4 separate regions of the Homo sapiens genome follow, and all the other regions are linked to region 2. The links are contacts of gene promoters, found by promoter capture Hi-C in blood cells and fetal thymus (Javierre and others, 2016). All regions are on one chromosome and are shown on one strand. The core of a region is centred on a gene start or on the middle of the fragment in contact, and the rest is flanking DNA. Distances in the headings are between cores, read along the strand shown. Region 1 has its middle 110 kb from the start of SNHG5. Region 2 holds the start of HTR1E (5-hydroxytryptamine receptor 1E). Region 3 has its middle 200 kb from the start of SNHG5. Region 4 has its middle 150 kb from the start of SNHG5.

The links. The method cuts DNA at HindIII sites, captures the fragments that hold promoters and counts their contacts. A CHiCAGO score of 5 or more calls a contact.
Region 1: a contact is called between a fragment that was not itself captured here and the fragment with the promoter of HTR1E in region 2, in 1 of 17 cell types (endothelial precursors). The highest score is 6.0, in endothelial precursors.
Region 3: a contact is called between a fragment that was not itself captured here and the fragment with the promoter of HTR1E in region 2, in 1 of 17 cell types (endothelial precursors). The highest score is 5.2, in endothelial precursors.
Region 4: a fragment that was not itself captured here is called in contact with the fragment with the promoter of HTR1E in region 2 in 1 of 17 cell types (endothelial precursors); the score reaches 7.8 in endothelial precursors.

The regions. Positions count from the first base shown.
Region 1 is chr6:85,790,258-85,793,064 of GRCh38, forward strand. No RefSeq gene overlaps it. Among named protein-coding and RNA genes, the nearest start is that of SNHG5, 110 kb to the left of the region's middle. The HindIII fragment of the contact is 3,544 bases long and covers 1-2,807 here.
Region 2 is chr6:86,936,087-86,938,998 of GRCh38, forward strand. It overlaps HTR1E (5-hydroxytryptamine receptor 1E), which reads left to right and starts at 1,442. Exons shown (of 2, transcript NM_000865.3): 1 at 1,442-1,737. RefSeq lists enhancers at 1,226-1,781, 1,782-2,336. The HindIII fragment of the contact is 4,175 bases long and covers 521-2,912 here.
Region 3 is chr6:85,879,646-85,882,500 of GRCh38, forward strand. No RefSeq gene overlaps it. Among named protein-coding and RNA genes, the nearest start is that of SNHG5, 200 kb to the left of the region's middle. The HindIII fragment of the contact is 1,892 bases long and covers 609-2,500 here.
Region 4 is chr6:85,825,443-85,828,399 of GRCh38, forward strand. No RefSeq gene overlaps it. Among named protein-coding and RNA genes, the nearest start is that of SNHG5, 150 kb to the left of the region's middle. The HindIII fragment of the contact is 3,718 bases long and covers 1-2,957 here.

The sequences.
Region 1 (2,807 bases), core at 120-2,619, 1.1 Mb before region 2:
AAAGAGACAATCTTGAAACAGCCTTGCATGCACAAGAATGGACTCCCCAGCTCAGGCATCACAACTGTGACCTCACCCCATGAAATCAATTGTCCTTTGGTTACCCCTTAAGCCAACAGATGTGTACACCAGCTCAGTCACCTGTCAAAACAGACCTGAGGATGAGGCCCATTTTGGTCCTTTCAGGCTGCTATAACAAATGTTCTTAATCTACTTAATTTATAAATAACAGAAATTTATTGCTCACAGTTCTGGAGGCTGTGAAGTCCAAAATCAAGACACTAGCAGATTGATGTCTGGTAAGAAATAGCCCTCTCTGCTTCTAAGATTGTTCCTTCTTGCTATGTACTCATATGACAGAAGGGATGAACAAGAAACCATGGGTCTTTTTTCTAAGGGAATTCATCCCATTCATGAGGGCTCCATCCATGTGGCTTAATCACCTTCCAAAGACCTCATTTCTTAATACTACTGCATTAGGAATTAGGTTTTAACATATGAATTTTGGGGGACACAAACATTCAGACAATAACAAGGCTCAAGCCGGCTTGAAAGTGGCTTGAGGTTGTTGAGACAGGGAGTTCTGGGTATGCATATATAATCTTGAAGGATGTAGGTTCTGATTGATACCTCCCTTTGGCCTTGTGGAATCCTTGCCCCATAGACAGCTGAAGGAGTATCAGAGTGGAACTTGCCAAAAGCTCCTTGCTTAGTTCTAAGAGTGTGTGTTGGTTAATTTTATATGTCAACTTGACTGGGCTAAGGAATACCCAGATAGCTGGCAGAAAATTATTTCTGGGCATGTCTGCAAAGATGTTTCCAGAAGAGATTAGCATTTAAATTAGTCTAATAAGTAAAGCAGATCTACCCTCACAAATATGGTTGGTCATCATCCAATCCATTAAGGGCCTGCCTAGAACAAAATGTGGAGGAAGGACAAATTTACCCTTTCTGTTTGAGCTGAACCATTCATTTTTTCCAATTCTCAGACATAGATGCTTCTGGTTTATGGGCCTTCAGACTCATACTGGGATTTATATTATTGGCTCCATTGGTTCTTCAGCCTTTTGGCTTTGAGTAGAACTGGCTTTCCTGGGCCTCCAGTGTGTTGATAGCAGATTGTGGGACTTCTCAGCCTCCATAATCATTTGAGCCAATCCCTCATTATAAATCTATTTCTGTATATCTATATATGTCATATTGGCTCTGTTTCTCTAGAAAACCCTGATGAATACAAGGTGGTACTGCTAATGGTCTCTTTCTGTCTAGGTTATTTAACTTCTTAGCAGCATTTTATTCAGTTAATCACTATCTCCTCCTCTGTTCTCTGAAACACTTTTCTCATTTGGTGCCTGCGGTCTCTCACTCTCCTAGTGTTATTGCCACCTTCTTGGCCACTCTTTTCAGTTTTCTTTGCTGGTTGTTCTTCTTTAAATGTTGGAGTGCCCTACCTTCTTTATGTAGCTATACTCTATCTTTAGTATTCTCTTTTCTCTCTCCCTTTTTTTTTTTTTTAGACAGGGTCTCATTCTCTTGCCCAGAATGGAGTGTAGTGGCATGATGTTGGCTCACTGCAACCTCAACCTCCTGAACCTCCTGTGTTCAAGTGATTCTCCTGCCTCAGCCTCTTGTGTAGCTGGAATTACAGGCATGTGTCACCATACCTGGCTAATTTCTGTATTTTTAGTAGAGACGAGGTTTCACCATGTTGGCCAGGCTGGTCTCAAACACCTGACCTGGAGGTGATTCGCCTGCCTTGGCCTCTCAAAGTGCTGGGATTACAGGTATGAGCTATCGTGCCCAGCCTCCTTCTTTCTTTCTTTTTATTTTTAAAATGAAAGCAAGTTTATTAAGAAAGTAAAGAAATAAAAGAATGGGTACTCCATAGCCAGAGCAGCAGCATGGGCGGCTTGACTGGGTATACTTATTTTTTGATCATAGTGGTGGATTATTCATGAGTTTTCCAGGAAAAGTGTGGGTAATTCCTAGAACTGAGGGTTCCTCTTCTTTTTAGACCATAAAGGTTAACTTCCTGACATTTCCATGGAATTTGTAAACTGTCATAGTGTGGGTGGGAGTGTCTTTTAGCATGCTAATGCATTATAATTAGCATATAATGAGTAGTGAGGATGACTAGGTCACTTTCATTGACATCTTAGTTTTGGCGGGTTTTGGCAGGCTTCTTTACTACATCCTGTTTTGTCAGCAAAGTCTTTGTGACTTATATCTTGTACTGACCTCCTATTTCATTCTGTGACTAAGAATGCCTAACCTCCTGGGAATGCAGCCCAGTAGGTCTCAGGCTTATTTTATCCAGACTAATATGGTTTGGCTCTGTATCCCCACCCAAATTTCATGTCAAATTGTAATTTTCAATGTTGGGGGAGGTACCTGGTGGGAGGTGACTGGATTTTGGGGGTGGATTTTCCCCTTGCTGTTTTTATGATAGTGAGTGAGCGCTCATGAGATATGGTTGTTTGAAAGTGTGTAGAACTTTCCCCTTCACTCTCTCTTCCTCCTGCTCTGGCCATGTGAAGACGTGCCTTTCTTCCCCTTCACCTTCCACCATGATTGTAATTTTCCTGAGGCCTCCCCAGCCATGCAGAACTGTGAGTCAATTAAATCTCTTTTCTTTATAAATGACCCAGTTTCAGGTATGTCTTTATAGCAGTGTGAGACTCGACTAAAACACAGCCCCTATTCAAGATGGAGTCACTCTGGATGGAATGCCTCGGACATATTCCCCCCTCCCTTTTACAAGGGGACCCTTAATTCTAAGGGTTGCAGAAGGATGAAGATCCATCTTC
Region 2 (2,912 bases), core at 192-2,691:
AGTTTAATGGGATTAACAGAAGCAAATCACAATTTAAGACTATAGTTTACCAACCTTCCTTTCTCTTGTTCAGTGAAATTCCCCTGATAATCCATCAGTCAACCCCTGCTGGCCTTGAGAGGCGCTCTAGAAGGCAGGAGAAGGGCACACAGGCTCGCTTTTTGAACTGAAGAAGGGTTTCATTTGGTTTAGAATTGTCAAACTTCAAAAAATAAATAAATAACTTAAAGTGTTTTTCAAATCAGCCATAAGGCTACAAACCAGAAAGAAAAGTGTGAGGCAGGTGTTTGGGGCAGCTACCCAAGTTGCCTACATGGTTTCCAAGGTCCTTTCAACTCTAAGGTTTGTGTATCAGGCTGTCTACAGATCATACTGTCTCCATAAGATTGTCTAGTTCATTTTATGGCTAGTTTGAACAATCTGATTTTCTTTTTTACAATGGCAGGGGCTCAATCCATGTTAGGCTTCAATGTTGAGTCACCCAAGTTCTCCACAGAGAATAACCAACCAGCCGTAAGGAAGCTTCTTTTAGCAATGCCAGGATTCTGCAAAGTCCCTCCCAGCTTAACTTTTCTGACCTTGCGGCAGCAGAACAACAAAAAGAACAGCCCCTGGCACCCTCAGAAGAGCACAAAGCCCTCTGACAACCTGAGATGGCGCCCAGGTAGACTTCCCTCAAAAAAAAAAAAAATGGCAAGGCTGCTTCAGCAGGTCTTTCAGCCCCAACCACTCCACTCTCCGTCTCCTTTTCTTCACTGCTTTCCCCACCTCTCTTCCCCCCTTCCACTTTGACCCACCCCAATTTTCGTCCACTTCTCCCTCACCCCTTCCTTGTAATCTCTCTCCTTGAGGCATCCTGTGGATGTTGACTGTAATCTCCCCTGGAGGAGGGCTAAGAAATGCACCTCCAGAGGGTCTGTTTGCCATTGGAACCGCGTAGAGAAAGCGTGCAAACCCGTCAACTGCTCCCGCCGTTCCTCTCCCTCCTCAACCCAGGCTCGCTACAGAAGAAGGGAGTAGGGTCTGCCCCCTTGTTGTATCTATTTTCCCCTTCTCCGCCAGGGCTGTGGCCGGCAAGGGGCTCAGGAGGTGAGTCCCTTGCCCACACCTCCAACCCCGCTGGCCCGGTTTATAACATGGACAGCCCTGCCCTCTAGTGTCTGCAACCGGGAGCCCTAAGGCGCCATCAGCTCCAGAATTTCTCTTTTATAACCTAAGCAAGACCTGGAGTACCTCGGAGCTGCGACCTCCAGTTCACAATACCACCTGCCTCACACCCGGGCTCATCTTTTCATCCCACACCCACCACCCCCCTCTCCGTTCACGGTGTCCCGGGAGGCTGCGACCTGCGTAGATGATTTAGCAGACTGCCCCTGCCCATGCTCCTGCTCCTGCTCCTCCTCCTCCTCTTCCCCGCTCTCTCCCTCTCGCCTCCTCTTCCAGTCCAGGCGCCCAGACTCGGCGAAGCGCAGCGCCTGCCACCAGCGGTGCCTCGGGCTGCCCGGCGCGCCGCGCTCCCAGGTTCTGTCTCGCCGCACCCCGGCGGGCACTGGCGCGGGCAAGGACGCTGGCGGGGAGAACGCCCTGGGCTCAACGTACTCCAGAATCGAATGTTGAGAGAAGCAGTGCTCTGATCCAGCTCAGGAGAAAAAGGAGCGGGTTCCGAGTGAGACTTCTGGAGCCAGCTGGACGTGCCGGTTTGCCCAGTGCGGCGCGGCTGCACGCACCGTCCACAAGGTGAGGGGCGCACACCTTCCGGGACGACCTTGGCTTCCCTTCTTACCCCCACCCACTCCAGGTACTCCAGCTCTGGCTTGGGGATGTTTGCCAGCTTTGAGGCGCAAAGGCGGCGGGAGTTGGGATGCGGGGTGTCGGAGGGAGACTGAGGGTCGCCCGGGCACCGTGCCTGCACCCTGGATTATAGTACAGAGAGCATTTCTTGTTCAAACAATTCCTCAAATGTGTGAACCTGAGAATCAACATTGTGTATAACTGTGGTTTGAGCATTTCATCCTGCTTCCTTGCAAAAGGATTAGAGGCAGCTTAAAGATTAAATAGGTATGGAACGGGTGCTGGGGGGGGCCAGGGAAAACTTGAGTAGAAATCACAGGGAGGTGGTGTGCTCCAGGGACCCCGGAAGAACTGTGTGATTTCAAAGCCAGCTGATTAAAAAACCTTTGATTAGAAAGGACTGCACTGTTGCTCCAGCCCTCAGAAAATAATACTGTGCTCAGTCCTGATAAACAAAATGCCCAGGTGTGGAGGTAATGAGGCAGGCTCATTTTTTTTAAAATACAAAATAAATCTTGGAAGTAAGAGTTAAGATGAGAAGTTTGGTCTTAAGCCATCTCCACCCAATACTGCAAGGTGAGAGGCTGACCCCCTACCTAACGAAAAGGAAAGGAAATTGAGTCTAAAGGGAAGTGATTCCAGCTCCTATCACAGGATCATAGTGGTTTTGCATCTATATGTATATTTCTGCCTGTGCCCAGTTTTGGAAGAAAGGACCTTGTATTCAACCCAACGCTGCTTGTCCTTGAGTTAGAAGGATAAGGCAGATGGTGTCAGCATCCCAAGGTGTTTCTTCCTAACCTTTCTTATTGTCCTTCCTTGCCTCCTGCACCAAATCTCTTGGGGAGGGAGCAGCCCAGGAGGAAATAATAGATCGTCAAATGGGTTGGGGGAGCAGTGTTTTTTCCAAAATAATTTAGGCTCATTTTATCATTCTTATGTTTTCCCTCAAAGCTCTAAGCAGTACATCGTCCTAAGCTGAATTTAACATTGCTCCAGAATATATATTTATCATAGTTGTACATTCAGACACAATATGCATAACCTTAAACAGCCAGGATGCACTTGTGAATCAGGGGCTTCCCTTACTTAATCCTGCGCAAGAGAGGCAAAGCAGGCAC
Region 3 (2,855 bases), core at 305-2,804, 1.1 Mb before region 2:
TGATAACAGAATATCTTTATTTTTTTGATTTGCAATGTGATCAGCTTGTGGTAGGCAGAATAATGCTCACTTGCCTCTCCCCACCCCCACATCCCCCATCAAGACCACCACTTTCTAGTCCTGGGAACTTGTGAATATGTTTTTGTTTATGACAAAAGGGTCTTTACAGATGTGATTAAGGATCTTGAAATTGGGAGATAATTGTGGATTATCTGGGTAGACCCAATGTAATTGCAAAAGTCTTTTTAAGAGAAAACAGGAGGCAAGAGAGTCAGAGGAGATATGATGATGGAAGCAGAGGTTAGAGCAAAGTGAAAAAGGGATCATGAGCCTAGAAATGCAGGCAGCCTCTAAAAGATGGAACACACAAGGAAATTCTCCACTAGAGCCTTCGGAAGAAACTCAGCCCTTGCAACACCTTGATTTCAGTCCTGTGAAACTCATTTTGGACTTTGACTTCCAAAATTGTCAGCCAATAACTTTGTGTTGTTTTAGTTCACTACATTCATGGTAATTTGTTACACTAGCAATAGGAAACTAATGCATAGCCCTAGAAGATAAATCACAATTCATCTAAACAATTGTGGAAATTCCACTGACATATGCCAAGCTTTCCTTGAAGCTGTGTTGTCATGTGACTTGGCATGAAGGAAAGTCAGCTTGGGGTTGTTGAGAAAAAATTTTCTTTTATGATTCATCCATTTATCCTTTATCTCCTGCTCATGATGTTGGTTTAAGAATGTGATGTTTCAATCTGTAGCAGCAATTTTGGAACTCTGAGTTGACAGTCTACAGGTGTTAAAGTCTAAAAGCCTAAAAACCAACACATCGAAGATACCACAGTGAAAGTCCCTTAATGACATTGCTGAACCATTGTACTAAATCTAGAACCAACTGTCTCCAGATTATTATATGTTAGATGATTAACTGTCATTATTTCTTACACCAGTATTACAAGTGGAATCCAACTTGACTGATACATTTGGTATGTATGATGTGATAGATATAGTAGTTAATTAAAAATTAACCAAATATTTTCAATGAATCTCTTCAGATTTATTCTGTCCTCCATTCTGAGAAGACTGATTTCACATTAAACTGTCAAAAGACACAAAATCAACTAAAAGAAAATTCGCCTTGCTAACAATTCTAATAAAAGCACACTTTTTTCGCCAGAAATTTGAGAGAAAAATATGAACTATACCTATTTGTTAGCTTTGTGTGCAAAGTAACAAGATTATGAACTAAATAGGCAAACATTTTGATGGCAAAATAAAAACCTGGCTGATATTTCACTAATTAGAGAACCAGGAAACTAGTGAGTACATAAAGTAATAATGGAATATTATAATATGTGAAACATTTAGTATAGTTAAAGTGAATCTGATGGCAAGGCATTAATTTACCAGCTTTGATTAATTGTCTTCTGGCCTTACCTTCCATGCAGTGGAAAAATGTAGCAGTGGAAAATTGAGTTGTACTTAAATAATTTCAAGTCAATGAAGAACAGAATGGTGCAGTGAGAAATATTTAAATTATACTTTTAGATATGCAAAATCATTCATGAAGAAATTTAAAAGAATTTTAATTAATATCTGAACACTGTGATTTTCATTGGCTAAGGGAATAGCTAAGTTTATAGCTATAATTACAAACATAAATTGCTTTTCTTTCCTTCTGGATAAATAGCTTGACATGTTTATCTTGTGAATAACAGACCTTTTAAAGTTAGGATTTTGAACTTTTTTTTCCCCCTTTCCTTTCTCTACCAGTCCATCAAGTCTTCATCCCATTATAATTTTTAAAAAAGAAGTCTAGAATCTTTGGCATAGTATATGTTATATCTTTACATGTATGCTTAAAATCCAAGATAACTAGAGATAGAAAAGGGGCCATCTCTTCTTAATATCTCTGTCTCTTAAAATTACCAGTTATTAAGAACATTATCAGTTTTATACTGTTTTGAATTGCTTAACAATGAGGCTACATTCTGAGAAATGTGTCACGTGGAGATTTTGTCATTGTTGAACATGATAGAATGTACTTACATTAGCCTAGGTGGTATATATATTTTTATTTATACATATATTTTTATCTGGAAAACCAAATTTCCAGCATCATTACTAAATATCAATCATTTCCCCTACTTGATATGTGATGCCAAAATCAAGTGCAATAGATCAGGTTTTTATATATGCTCCACTATCATCTTATGAGGCCCCTGCTGTATATGTCATCTGTTGTTGACTGAAATGTTATTATGTAGTGCATGACTGTATATTCGTAATTTAAAGAATCAAATAATTTCACAATTCTTATAAGTAACAGCAAGCTCATTTCCTCCCCATTATTCCCTTTCTTCAAAAGCTACTATACTTTTCACCTCCTTAAGATGATTCTTATTTTACTATTTACCTCCATGTATCTAAGAAACATATTTATATTACTACTTCTTTAACTTTTTAGACACTATCTATTGGTTTCTCACAGTAGAAAATGAAGCTTTAATGCTCTTCTCCCCGTCTCTCCCCCAATTCACATCTCCTCTATGTCTGATAGAGTTTCATCTGAGATCTTCTTTTGCCATTGTCCTTGGGAATCCTTTTGCTTGTTTTGCTATTATTTTGTGTATCTCCACAATGCTCTTTCCTATTTTAATCCCTCATTTTAGTAGAGATACCTCTTGCGGTAGTTTTCTGAGAAAGAGTGCAATGGAGACAATTTTTTAAAGAATTTGAATGCCTTTATTTTACTTTACATTTATTTTGACAGTTTGACTAGGTATAGGATTACAGGTTGAAATAATTTTCCTTGATAATTTTGATCACAATTCCTTTTAGTTTTCGGTGTTGCCA
Region 4 (2,957 bases), core at 12-2,511, 1.1 Mb before region 2:
CCTAGCCATGTGGGCTGTCTGTTTTCCTTCTTTTTCCTAGATTTTAAAGTTTCCTTTCACTTTTCTGTTTAACTCCTATGTTTTATCTTGAATAATATATTCAAAATATGATTGTCTACACATTATTTTGGTTCATCTAAGTGGATGAGGCATGCTGGAAATGCTTCCAGTCAGCCATCTTGGAAACTAAAACATTCCATATATATTACTTGATATCTGTTATGCATCTGACCCTGTGTTCAGGCCCAGATTTTAAGTTGAAGAGAAGTTGAGTCACTATTTCTTGTCACAAATTATGGTAGTGATAAACTTTCTATGCTGTGGTAAAAGTGACATTCCCTATGTATAACTTTATTTTTGATAATGGAATAAACAGTGTTGGACTCAAGCAGGAATATTCATTATTCAATCAAGGTAGTTCTTTAAGAAATAGTTGTATTATTGTTCTTTCTTAAAAATCAGTCATTTTATCTGACAAGTTACTTCTTTATTTATGTCAAAAGTAGAAGACGAGATGGGGGCTTCAAGATGGCTTACTAGAGATGCCTGGCACTTGCCTCCTCCACAAAGAGAAATTAAGCATGAATAGATAATCACATGTCCAATAGAGCATTGAAGAATACTGGAATTCAGGAGGGAAGGGACAGGGACCCTCTGAGGCATGGAAGGAGAAAAAAGCAAAGCAGCTGGCCTGGCTGAGATTGGCTTGAAGCCAGGAGGGACTCCCCATTGTGGGGAAAGGTAAGCTAGAGATTCCCAACAGTCCACATCCCCACTGTAGGTAGACTCCTGAAATCCTAGCCATGGGAGATACCCTTGGCCCTTACAGGCCCTGAAACTAGTATGGGGAACTGCCTGGAGTCCATGTGATGGCATTGTTCCAGAGAGGGAGTTTGCCCTGGGTCCCACACATCCCCTGAGACACAAGCAGCTACAGCACAGAGCCATTTTAGGAGCCCAGCCCTCACCAGACTGCATTCTCCCGAGTCCCAATAGTTCTGATATTGCCACATCCCTGGAACCATGCTGACCACCCCCAACCCATGTCCACCCAGAGGGCTGAAGTGTCATGACATTGGCTGGACTCAGTGATGCGGCTGGATTCCCAGCACTCTAGCCTATGCAGTATTCTACATCCCAGGAAATGGGTGGCGCAGTGCACCAGAGATGCCAACCCTGGGACTAAGGGAGCAAAGGTGTGTGCTCCTAAGAGTCTGAGTGCTGCCTGCCTGGGCTGTGGACTCTGATAGAAACTAGACTCCCTCCAGCAGAAGGGCCACTGTGCACCTGCATGGTCCTTCAGGGTTCCTGGGGAACAGCCCTCCCAGGAACTGTCCCAGGGCCTACCACAGGCCCGTGTGAGGTGTACTAGCTCTTGCGCACACCACCTGGTGGCCTGAGGAAAGGCTTGTCCCCTCAATGTCACTATTGCTAGTTCCTGAGAATATTTTCCAGGGATGGGGATTCGCCTACCCTGCCTGCTGCAGCTGGTATCCACGTGCACCATTGGGGGTCCTAAGGGCATGTCCACCCCATATACTGCCACTGCCAGTATATACATGTGTCATCCAGAGGCCTGAGGACAGGCCTACCCCACCACCATCACTGCCACTGATATTCAAGTGTGCCATCCAGGGACCTGGGGAGAATCCACTCCACCTGTTGGTGCCAGGGCCTGCACATGCCTTCTGGGGGCCTGAGGATGGTCATGTAACATCTTCTACCACTGGCCGCATGCATTTCCTGAGGGCCTGGGGACTGACCCACCCAGCTTGCCACTGTCACTGCTGCTGGTACCCACCTGCATATGATTCCTGGGGTCCTGGAGATTGGCCTATCCAGTCCACAGCTGCCACTGCTGGTGCTCACATGTGCCACTCAAGGATCCAAGGGTTTGCCTGATGCCCCTACTACTACTATTGATGCTATGAATATCATCCAGGGGCTTTAGGATCCACCTGCTCATTCTGCCCATCACTGCAATGGTCAATACACAAGCAAACTGCCTTGAGGCCCAGGGACTGGCCTGCCTGGATTAACTACCACTAGTTCCCATGTACACTGCACAGGAGGTCCAAGGAATGGCACGACCAGACCATTGTTGCCATCACTGCTGCCCAAGGGCTGGCCTGTCTGGAATCCCTCTCCCTAGCAAAACCTTATTACAGTCTCCACTAACAGCTGCAGCCTAAGCCACTGGAGATCTCATGGACACCACTGAGGCTGATTATAGCCAATGAAATAATACAGAGACTAAACTGCATCCATCCAGAATCAAAGCCAAAGCACTCTATCCACCCAACACTATAATTACATCTATAGGAAAAAGTCTTTCCCTACAAAGGCTATTACATAAAAGTGGAAGAAACAGGACTGGGCATGATGGCTCATGCCTCTAATTTCAGCAGTTTGGGAGGTTGAGACAGGTGGATCACTTGAGTTCAGAAGCTCGAGACCAGCCTGAATGACATGGCAAAGCCCCATCTCTATGAAAAAATATAAAAATTAGCTGGGTGTGATGGCCCATGCCTATAGTCCCAGCTACTTGTGAGGCTCAGGTGGGAGATTTGCTTGAGACTGGGAGGTGGAGGTAGCGCTGAGCTGATATTGTGCCACTGCACTCCAGCCTGGGGCACAGAGTGAGATACTGTCTCAAAAGTAAAACAAAAACAAAAACAAAAAACAAAAAGGAAAGAAACAACTGTCACACAATATGCATAGATATCAATGTAATGACACACAAAAACCATGAAAAAGCAAGGAAAGATCATACCTCCAAAGAATGCAATTATTCCAAAGAAAGAAATCTTAAGGAAAAGGAAATCTATAAAATACCTGAAAAATAATAATGATATTAAAGAAACTCAGTGAGATACAAGAAAACACAGATAAATAATACAAAGCAGAAACAGAATTGATGATCTGAATGAGAAATTCAACAAGAAATAGATATAATA